Linked DNA regions of Homo sapiens: all the other regions are linked to region 4. Evidence: promoter capture Hi-C in 16 types of primary human blood cells and fetal thymus (Javierre and others, 2016). All regions are on one chromosome and are shown on one strand. The core of a region is centred on a gene start or on the middle of the fragment in contact, and the rest is flanking DNA. Distances in the headings are between cores, read along the strand shown.

Region 1 (2,700 bases), core at 71-2,570, 470 kb after region 4:
AGGCAGTTGAAAGGAAGACAGGACAGACATTAGTGAGAAAAAATTAATAGTTATAGAGATTAATTGAACATAGATACTCTGGAAAAGGGAGGAATGTAAGAGGATTTCTAAAATTTGGGCTTAAGCAAATACAGAAAACAGTAACACCCATTAAATGTAGAATACTGGGGGAGATCAATATCAGTAGGAAAAGTATATAGTTCTATTTTAAACATATTGATATGAGATGACATTGGGATATTAGGTTGGTTTTTCCAACAGCTAATCCTGCTTTTCTTTCTTTCTTTTTCTTTCTTACCTTCTTCCCTCTCTCTTTCTCTTTCTTCAATATAAGTATGATATTTGACGCCATGACACTGATTTGGATCACCCAGAGAGAGTGACTATAATTGGAGGAGGTGAGCAAGGGAATCCAGTAAATAACCTGCATTTAAGAGATGTGTAAAAGAGGAACAGTCAGTAAAGGTGACAGTGATGAAATGATCACAAAAGGAGATGGGGAAACAAAAATTCAGTGATGTCTTAGAAGTTAAGGAGGAGAGTTTCATGAAGTCAAGTCACCAGATTTAGTAAGTTCTTCAGAGACCAAAAAGTAAAAGAATATTGGCGACCTTGGCAGAAGCAGTAGGGTGAAACAGTTGAATTCATTCATTCATTTATTTATTCAACAACCATTTGTGAAAGGTCTTCTATGTACTTCGGCTTGAGACACAAATTTCTGTAATACTTATCATCACGTACATTGCACTGAAATTAGGATATGTCTATTCTATCAACAGTTTTACTCACAAAGTAGTTCATTATGGGTAGATGATCATGGTTACATTCAGTCTTTACACTGCATTCTTCTTTTAAAAATGATGTTTCTATCAAATATGTGTTTCATTATATGACATATTATTATAATATATATTATATGTATAATATATAATATATATTATACATATGTATGTATTATATATATAATACATACATATATATTATTTTCATGTATATATTATATATATACATATATATGTATATAATATATACATATATTATTTTCTGGTCTATAACCTCTTAATGAATCAAAGACGTGAACCAAATGAGGATCTCTATCAAAGTGGTTACTTAATATTTAGATACTTGAAATAAAATTTCTACAGAAAATTTTCCCATTGATCTTCACCCCTGTTCCCTCTCGCCCCACCACACACACACCCATTATCAGCAGCCACACATTATTACCTAAAATTCTCGGATAAAATGGAAATTGTACAATTGAACTTTTAAATTTAACAATTAGGAACACAAATGTTTCACTCATATTTTAACTAGTAGTACTTAAAAACAAATGATGTATTCAGTTATAATTAATATAAAATTCTAGTCTCAGATAAAATCTCTCACATTCTCACTTATGGCTATATGACTCTTAGACAAATGACTTAAATTCTCTTAACTCCCACATAAGTAAACTGGGAATTACAATACATGCTTTGCAAAGTTGTACATTAATGGGAAATAAACTAATATTTAAGAAATAGCTAAGAAAGAGCTTGGCATATAAAATAATAATAAATGGTGATTATTAATATAACAAAGTGCTTATTAAAATATATAATACACAGTAGCTGTTTAACAAATCTAATCCTAAAACTATGTTCTTCGAAATGTCCTTCATTATTTAATATCCCACTAGGCATTATAAATATCTTAACTGATTTAATTAATACAAAATTTATTTAAATGGTTATTTTTTCCTCCTTGCTGAATAACAAAAGAAATGAAGACTCAGCAAGTTAAGCAACTTGACTAAGGTGGGGAATGACAGAACTATGATTTGCATGCTGGCCTTTCTAACTGAAAATCCTGTGCAGCTAAACATTGTGTGATCCAGCCTGCTTCTCTTTTGAAACTCCTCACTTTCACCTCTTCCTCTACTTTCTGATTCATTCTATTTTCTTGTATTTTTTACTTCTCATAAATTGTTACCAGGGATCCAGAAAAGCAACTAGTTTTCTAAAACTCCTTTAGAGTATGCTTGCTCCACAGTTCAGTTAATTGGGAAACAAACAGCTTACAGTTTGACTATAAGTGATACTGTACTATAAAATCTTTCCAGGGGTATCAATGATTTTTATTAGATTTGTTAAGATTTGAAGCCAGGTGTGGTGGCTCACGCTGGTAATCCCAGCAGTTTGGGAGGCCAAGGGGGAGGATTGCTTGTGTCCAGGAGTTGGAGACCAGCCTGGTCAACATAATGAGACCTTGTCTCTATCAAAGAAAAAAATTTTTAAAAAAGCCACGAAAATTAGCTGGGCATGAGGGTGTGCACCTGTAGTTCCAGCTCCTCCGTGGGCTGAGATGGCAAGATTACTGAATGCCAGGATGTTGAGGCTATAGTGATCCATGATCTTACCAGCCTGGGCGACAGAGTGAGATGCTGTCTCAAAAAAAAAATTGATATGTCTAACAGTTTCAAATATTTTCACCAAGATAAAGATTTTTTTTCCTTTCCTGACAGATACACTGACTAATCTTTTGATGTAACTGAAAACAATCACTTTCAAAAGTGGTTCCTATGGACAGAAAAATTATAATTAAAGCAAAAGTTAGTAATACAAGTTTCAGAGCTATATTTTTTTCTTTTCATGTCATGTGAAAGAGAAAAATATCAAATTAATCAAGTGCTTGGCTATTATAATTTACTACTTAGTA
Region 2 (2,700 bases), core at 200-2,699, 450 kb after region 4:
TGTCTGAAATGTTCTTGGTGTCTTTGAAATTTAGAAAACTACATGGATATGTCTGAACATGGCTTTTTTTTTAACAGCTCCAAATCTCCTGTTCATTATTGCACTGTAGTCAAAATACAGTATTTGCTTCTGGTTTCTCATCTTGTTATGGCTTTCTACATTGTTCTACTTAAAACTCAAGATATTTTCCAAATGTGTCCTAATTATTTTGCTTTTGGCAACCCTAGTCTAATTGCCACTGTCATGTCATCCTCTACTTCAGTACATAAGTCAAGAAGTAGGTATTTAATTCCAAAATGCAATTTCAACCACGCTACTCTTGTACTAAAACTCTTTTAATGGCTGCCTATTGTTTAATTGACTACAGGTTTAAATCTAAGATCTTTTACCAAGAATTTAAGTACCTTTGTGATCTGACTCATGTCTTTCTTTCCAGCCTTATTACTTGTCCTTCTCAGAATTTTTTTCTATGTAATAGTCATTAAATAATAATTTCTTTCCATGTCATGCCCTCATATCTTTGAATCTGCCATTGTTTCCACCCAGAATGATTTTCCCTCCTTTGTCTGTTTTTATATCTTCCATTCTTTCTTGATAATATACTATAAGTATGCAGAAAGGCTTTTTCTTCTGACTTTTGCAGGCACAGTTAGTCTTCCTCTAAAATGTGTTCACAGACCCCCAGTACCACTTTTGGAAATGCAAATATTTGTTCCACTAGACTGTAAGTTATTTGAGTCAGTGCCTCTCCAGGTTAGTAGCGGAAATATAGCAAACATAAATTTTTGTTGAGTGAATGAATAAATAAAGTATCCATTCTACAGGATAGAAGCAGATACAAAACAAACATAAATATCTGTTGAGCAGATGAATGAATAAATAGGTATATCAGAAGGTTTTATTGCAAACAAATAAGAAAAATATGTGTTTATGGTAATTAGTGTATAGCTATGCTTTTAACTTGAATCCTCCTTTAGTTATTGATCATTTCTGATAATTTGGCATAGTTGAGATAATCATGGACACAGGACAAGTTTTATTGCTGCCATTAATTTAAATGTAGGCAGTTACAGTAATTTATCCTGTAAGTATTCATCTTCAGCCTGCTTAAATATTATAGAAAGAGCAATAATTGCTATAGGCAGGAATATTAAAAATGGTGATAGATAGTAGAAACCTGAAAAGGGTTAAATCCACAGAGATCTGAAAATTGGTTAGTTTGTCAAATCAAAAGCATAATGATTGTGTATCAGAAGAGGGCAGCAAAGTGCAGCCCAGGCCAAAAATCTGAACTTGACCAAGTGCCCTGATGTGAGATGAAGAGTATGACTAAAGACCCCTGGAGAGTGAGTGCAACATTTAGCAATAGAGAAGTGTAGGAGAACCAAGAAACTAATCCACTGTCTTTGTACCAAGGGCAGTAGCCAATATAATATATAAAATTTTATAAGAATATAAAAGCAGTATTGTTTTCACTCTCATTATCACATTTTAATCTTTGAAACAATTCTCCATGGCATGGATAACTAGATACTGTGTGTGGGAAACAATACTCAAAGAAGGAACTACTAGGAGAGACCAGAGCCAAGACTACTCTTAGATAACCCAGTCTAGGTGAGCATGAGGAGTGTCAGGTTGAGCAGAGGGAGAGTCTTTAAGGTTTCAGTCTAAAGAACAAAGGCCAAGAGCAGGGTCCAAGTATCACAGCAAAAGGAGAGCAGCAGGAAGCCAGAATTAGGGGACAGGTTGAGAGTCTGGATACATGATAGCTTTTGGATGGGATTGTGGGGATTAATTCTGAAGTCTTGGATAGCATTCCTCCTGACTAAAGATGACTTGTCATGCTTGTATCAGTGTGAGAACTCACATGGCTAAAAGAGATTTGTCCCGTTGGAAAACAAACCTTTTGATATTTCTTCATTGCCCAAAGTTATTAGTATGGCATTTAAAGTTGAGAATGATCTACTAATAACATTGCTATTTGTAGTCTTACTGCCTTCTTCCTATTTGATGCACTTACAGCATTTTATATATATTTCCTTTGTATAATTTAAAACATTGTATTAAACTTTTGGTTGATATATCTTTTCTCCCCGTCTTGTAGTGAGGTTGTTTCCAAAGGTAAATGTAGAATAGTGTTTTGGCTCTCCAGCATTTTTGTTGAATGAGTATGTTATTAGTACTTACCTCAGTATAGATGAATATGTTTTTTGCACTGTCATAGAGCATAACATTTTGCAACCAAATTATAGTTCACTGTCTACTTGTAACTAAAGTGATCATTACAGCCAAAATTAACACAAGTATTTTTGTATTGCAATGACAGAGGGATTCTTTGAATTGGGGCCTTATTATTAGAGGAAGTAAGTCCTAAGAAGCTCTATCGTTCCCATAAGCCTGTCAAAAAACTGCCAATGCTCAGGACTTTAAACATTTCTGCTGTTTTAATAATATTTGCACAAGGGCATAATCAGAAAGCCACAATTAAAATACACATTACAAGTGCTTACCTATCCATCTTCTCCCTTGCCCTCTATTATTTTCGAAGCCCTAATGACAAAAGAGAAAATTGCTCCTACCAGATTAAAACCTTTTGGTTTCTTTTTTACTAATAAACACGTTTTTCCCTTGGCACTCACAAAATGTAAATATTTACTTTGTAGGTTATTTTAATTATTGGATTACTCTCTGAATTATTTG
Region 3 (2,700 bases), core at 149-2,648, 500 kb after region 4:
TTCAAAATAAAAATGACCATTGACCAATTATCTAGATACATCTGATGAGAAATATTTTTGATCCTTATTTTTTGTTTCATAAACTTCTCCTAATTTTGTTACTAAATGCTGAATTGGTTGAGTATGTAATCAATATAGTTTCTGGTTGAGGGGAAGTGGCATATAGCTTTGTATAAAAAATTCTATATAAAGTATGAGAAAAAGCTGAGAGGAAGTAATATCTTAGCTGTGAGTCTAGTACTTATAGTCTTAAAAAGGAAAGCTTAAATTCAATTTGGAAGGAAAATGGCTATTGAAATATATGACTGTTTGCTCTTAAAATATCTACTTTGATTAAGGTCATCACTCTATTTCTTCCTTGCAACTAAATCATCAGAAAAACCATAGAAAGCCAATTTCATGAACTGTGAGGTCTTACTATAGTTAAAAATAAACCTAATTAAAGATCCACAGGCCTTGTAGACTTGTTTGTTTATGTTATTTGCTCTAAGGATGTTACATTTTTCTTCTGCTTCCTCTAATACAATATCACACCTGTTAAATACGACATTAAAGCAGCTACTCTTAATAAACTTTTAATGAGAAAAAATCAGTAGGAGCAAATTTCCATTGTAAGGGAAGATAGCTGGGTGTTATTAAAGATATGAATGTTTTTATTGTTTTATGCATGACCATGTATAAGTAGTAAGGCAAATGTTTAGAATGTAACATTACAACTTTATATACCCATTAACACCCAATAAGGAACTAACTTTATACTCCTTAATGGGAATCAATTTAAAATATTTACGAAACTTTTATAAAAATTCTACGTAGTTCTCATGAAAGAATTTGGGTTTAATTGTCTGTCCTCAACAAAACTTTTTGCTCATCTTATGGAATATCTACCCTCAGGTGTTGTTAAATATAACCTTCTGATGACTAGAGTCCCTAGTTTATGATCACAGTGCACATTTTTGTCTGAGGGCACTAGGGATAAAATGAAAGTAATCCAAGCACTTGTCAAGCCACATTTATTTAACTAGTGAGAAATGCTAATAGCAAGACGTTAGCTAAAAAGTGCATAAAAGGTGGGAAAGAAAAAAACACAAATATTAAGCTAAAGGCAGGCATTTGACCTAATGTGGAAAACAAGAAGGAAACTAAGCCTGAGCAAATGATTTTAAGAAGTACATGACATAGTTGGAACAAAATGAATTTGGCAGTTGTTTCTTCATGTTATGAGAGTGGGAAAAAGTAAGAGGCATTGAGACAAAAAGGGAGGGATCACAGTATTTCTTAAGAAGAGAAATGAATCATACTGAAACAGGGATTGTATCTCCAGAGATGAAGAAAAGGAACAGATATTAGAAATGTTGTGAGGAACTGAAAGATTTGGGAACAACCTAGCTCAAACATTGTGTATTATTGTAATTTTCCAATGTCAAAATTTTCTCAATTTTAGGACATGGCAGAAGATCAAGGTTCTGTGTCCCTTTTGTTTACACAGATCGAGTGTAACAGGAGTGTTAGGCATTACTTTAGATATTCCCTGGGCACTCTTTCTAAATAAAAGAGCCAATTTGGGATTTTGATCCAAAATGATTAATGTTCCTGTTGGCACATGTGTTTTTGAAAATAAGTGATTTGACAAATCAAATAATAAGTATACTGAGAATCTCATGAAGTGGGGCATGGTGCTAAAAACTTTATCTTTCTTAGCTTGTATTTATTTTTCTGAGACCTGTGTAGAGAACTTGCTTTAATTTCCCTTTAAGAAAGATAGACACAGGCTCCTGAAATTTGCCAGCATTTGCCAAAATATCACAGCCAAGATGAAAAGTAGCATCTTTGGTGATTAAATGCATTGCTGTGTTTATTCTACACTGCCTCCTGTTACAAAATATTTTACTAGTGAGTGTGTTTTGAATATTTAAAAATTAGTTCATGGAATTAAAATCTGTTTCTGTAGATACAGAGGTCTACCTTTCCTATTTCATGCATGTTCTTTAGCATGTTGTCCATATCACTCTCATCTATATTTAATTATTACATCCTATACAAGTAGCATTTAGGGTTGTCTAATTCAGTGTATATAACATTAAATTTATAGAGGTATATAATAAAATCTATTTGAATTTTACTATCAAACAAATGATTTATCTATTTTTTGTAACTGCATTCTGTCTATGCTTCTCTGATTTCAGAAAAAGTTGCTCTTGTCTTCTGTATAGCAGAAGAATTATGGAAGTACCACTTAAATGTATGAAATATAGTCTACAATGTGTGGCAACTCTACACCTCATTACAAATAAATAAATATAGATAAATAATAATAATATAAATAAATACGTGTTGAACTTGAGATATATTTTAATTAAAAACTAAACATTGAGTTTTATTATATGTCAAGATGAGGAAGTAAAAATATTACTTAAGCAAGCGCAAATAACATGTTATAGTTTTTCATGATGTGTGCATGATTTCCAATGTTCATTTGTTTTATAGGAATGGTTGTCATAGGTTATACCAACTGGTCCCATGTGTTCCCCATCTGAAGCTTTATGATAAGCTTCACATTATCAAGTGTCTGTGTCTCACTCAGCTGCTGTCTGGATTTCTAAACTTTGTTCAATTTTGCCAAAATCCTCCTACAGGTTAAATTGTGTCGAGCAGATTAAAAACATATAAAGAGCTAAGTCAATAGAGCTCAGATTACTG
Region 4 (2,700 bases), core at 143-2,642:
AGGATTTCCTAGAAAAACCTTTAAAGGAAAAATGCATACTTAAAAAGACCAGTAAAATTTGAGAGTTAGAGCAAAACTGAGTTAATAAAAGAGATTTGAAGAGGTAATTTAGTTTAGGTGATTCAAAAAGGTTGAATAGATTCTACTGGAGAATCTTAATTCTTGATACTAGTCTCTAGGCTTCATTATTTATCTTTGTTAGCAAATTAACAAATTAGGATGGTTTTAAAGTGACCTGCCCTTAGGCAGGTGAAAATAAATCTAATTCCCAAAGTCAGAGAAGAAAAAAAGCAAATATCAACCCATAAATTCCTCACAGTAAGGAAATTCTACTTTGGGGTGGAGCTAAGCACCTTTTGTAAGGTAGCTCATTTTGGATTTTTGTTTGGTGCATTTGAGTCGGTGAATTTATTTAATTTTATTCAAGAGGACAAAATTTATTCACCAAGACTAGTTTGGCTAAAACTATTAAATACAGTAAGTATTGAAGCAACAAAGTAAAAAAAGATGCTTTAAATAAGCACAGACTAGTAAATTGCATTCAATTCTTAAACTTCACGGCACTAACGTAAAATTTTGTAAGTCAACTCCTAGGAGGTAGTGCAGTGGCTAATTTTTGAGTGGTTAAGGATGGGATATGCAATTATGAAATATCTGTGGTCTTTCAGTAAACTTGAATTTTTATTCATTAATATCTTTCCAAGGTATTGCCATTTAAACCATCCTTTAATAGGGCCTTCATACAGTTTCAGAGTGAGCAAAGAGTAAAGGGAAACCTATTTATTTATTTAGAAAATATTTACAGTATGCTAGCAGATTGTAGAATTTTCATTTCGTTTGATTTACAGGACTAAGGACCACTAACAACAGATCCAAGAACACATGTAATGCCAACCAGGTATTCATACGCCTCTGACATTTTCAAGCCTAAAGATCAAGAGCCATCATCTTTTACAAGAGTTGCAGTTTGGTCTTAACCTCCAAAAAAGAAACTTCTAATAAATACTATTTCCTTCTGTAATTTCACGTATTTTAGAGTCTGGAACACTCGTGGGAAGGCGCTTTCGGGGGTGAGGCAGCAAGTATCCGCAGAGATTGTGATGGTGGCTACGCACATTGGGTATGCCAGTGGGGGAACCTGGTGGGCGGGGATGATGGCCAACTGGGGGCGGTAGGGGCGGTAGTTACTCGGAAATCCATGTATTCCGGCTCCTCCTCCCTCAGCAGGAAGCCAGTGGGGCCCATCTCTCGTAGGAGGTAGATGCTGCTACTCAGCGCCTGGTCTTGGTGCCAGCTGAGCCTCTCGCTCAAGTGTCTTCGCCTTTCAGAGGCCTTATAGCCTCGGCGAAGCATGCTGGGTGCGGGCGGAGGCGGCCCCTCTGCTCGGCTCACTGAGGCGCCAGCCGGTCTCCAAGACGACGGCGTGCAGGCTGGTTGCCTTGGTGACGGTGGTTGGGCTCGGGGTGTCCCGGTGTGCCCTGCGCCGAAGAAGAGCGGGCGACAAAGGTGCGGGATGGCATGGATTCTGCAACTCTCCCCAGCCTCCACTGCGTTTCGAAGCGACGCCCTTGACTGAGGAGTGTTTTTAATAATCATCTGGCCGACTTGGAAGCTGGAGGCCGAAGGCATAGCTGTCAATTTTCTTGCGTTCCTTCTGCTTCCTCGGGGCAGAGATGGTGAAATCTACTTGTTAGGACAGTTGCAAACCCGATTGCAGTCTGGGCTCTGGATGCTGAAATTATCCTGTGATGATTCATCATCTTTAACAGAAAGCCGAGGTTACAGAGCCCAGAGTGATTTTTGACGTTCCACAATATTCCACGAACATTTTCTGATTGCTCACTATATGCATAGATTGACTGAGTCTCTGGGGGAAAGATGTAGAAGACAGGAGTTCTAAACCCTAGGAAGTGCATCACCGGTAGTGGCGCCGGCTGTAGTCCCAGCTACTTGGGAGGAAACCAGATCCTTAAGTCATTTCTCTCTGCCTCTCTCTCTCTCTCTCTCTCTCTCTCTCTCTCTCTCTGTGTGTGTGTGTGTGTGTGTGTGTGTTGGAGGGGAAATGGTCTTCCAAGTGAGGGAACATTTTTTAATTGCATGTTTGGGTAGGGGTGGGTGTTGGGGATGGTACAGCCAGAATGGTGGATGGTGGTACGTCCTGAATGGTGGCACAGAATCCATTGACTATGGGTACATGAAACTTACAAATCTGTATACTAAGGAATAAGAGTTTCAAGGTATGCAATGTTTGTACCTCCAATAATTTAAATTGTCTCTGAGGTTTGTTTACCACATTTTAGGGGGAAAACTGTAATAAAGTATGGGTCAACATTTTGAGTCATAATTACTGAAAAAAGAAGCCACATTACTAGAATCTCTATAGGAAATTAAAAGCAGGAGATAGCACTACTTGGAGGTCCAGTAACCTTTGCCTTGGTGGCCAAAGATAGAGCATATTTGTCCTATTTTATCATGGGCAGAAATCATAACTAGATTATGTCAACAGCAGGAGAGTTCTCAGAAAATGGCAAGGGCAAAAGATGAAAGAAGATGATGGTAATGGCAGCTTTCACAGGTGAGACACCTGGATAAACATCATCCAACCCTTAAAGTCTTAGGTCTAAGGTCTAAGGTTTTAATTTACTAAATTTTATTTTTATTCTCCTATTCTGACTAATAACAACTCACATTCATACTACC

What was found. The method cuts DNA at HindIII sites, captures the fragments that hold promoters and counts their contacts. A CHiCAGO score of 5 or more calls a contact.
Region 1: a contact is called between a fragment that was not itself captured here and the fragment with the promoter of ZSWIM2 in region 4, in 1 of 17 cell types (M2 macrophages). The highest score is 5.8, in M2 macrophages.
Region 2: a contact is called between a fragment that was not itself captured here and the fragment with the promoter of ZSWIM2 in region 4, in 2 of 17 cell types (M1 macrophages and M2 macrophages). The highest score is 5.5, in M1 macrophages.
Region 3: a contact is called between a fragment that was not itself captured here and the fragment with the promoter of ZSWIM2 in region 4, in 1 of 17 cell types (monocytes). The highest score is 5.8, in monocytes.

Annotation. Positions count from the first base shown.
Region 1 is chr2:187,314,421-187,317,120 of GRCh38, forward strand. All of the region lies in intron 2 of CALCRL-AS1 (CALCRL and TFPI antisense RNA 1), which reads left to right. Among named protein-coding and RNA genes, the nearest start is that of CALCRL, 130 kb to the right of the region's middle. The HindIII fragment of the contact is 3,016 bases long and covers 1-2,700 here.
Region 2 is chr2:187,298,057-187,300,756 of GRCh38, forward strand. The region is part of intron 2 of CALCRL-AS1 (CALCRL and TFPI antisense RNA 1); the gene reads left to right. Among named protein-coding and RNA genes, the nearest start is that of CALCRL, 150 kb to the right of the region's middle. The HindIII fragment of the contact is 2,959 bases long and covers 1-2,700 here.
Region 3 is chr2:187,348,269-187,350,968 of GRCh38, forward strand. The region is part of intron 14 of CALCRL (calcitonin receptor like receptor); the gene reads right to left. All of the region lies in intron 2 of CALCRL-AS1 (CALCRL and TFPI antisense RNA 1), which reads left to right. Among named protein-coding and RNA genes, the nearest start is that of CALCRL, 99 kb to the right of the region's middle. The HindIII fragment of the contact is 2,277 bases long and covers 261-2,537 here.
Region 4 is chr2:186,847,778-186,850,477 of GRCh38, forward strand. ZSWIM2 (zinc finger SWIM-type containing 2) reads right to left here and starts at 1,393. Exons shown (of 9, transcript NM_182521.3): 1 at 1,189-1,393; 2 at 1-18. The coding sequence starts at 1,353. The HindIII fragment of the contact is 8,021 bases long and covers 1-2,700 here.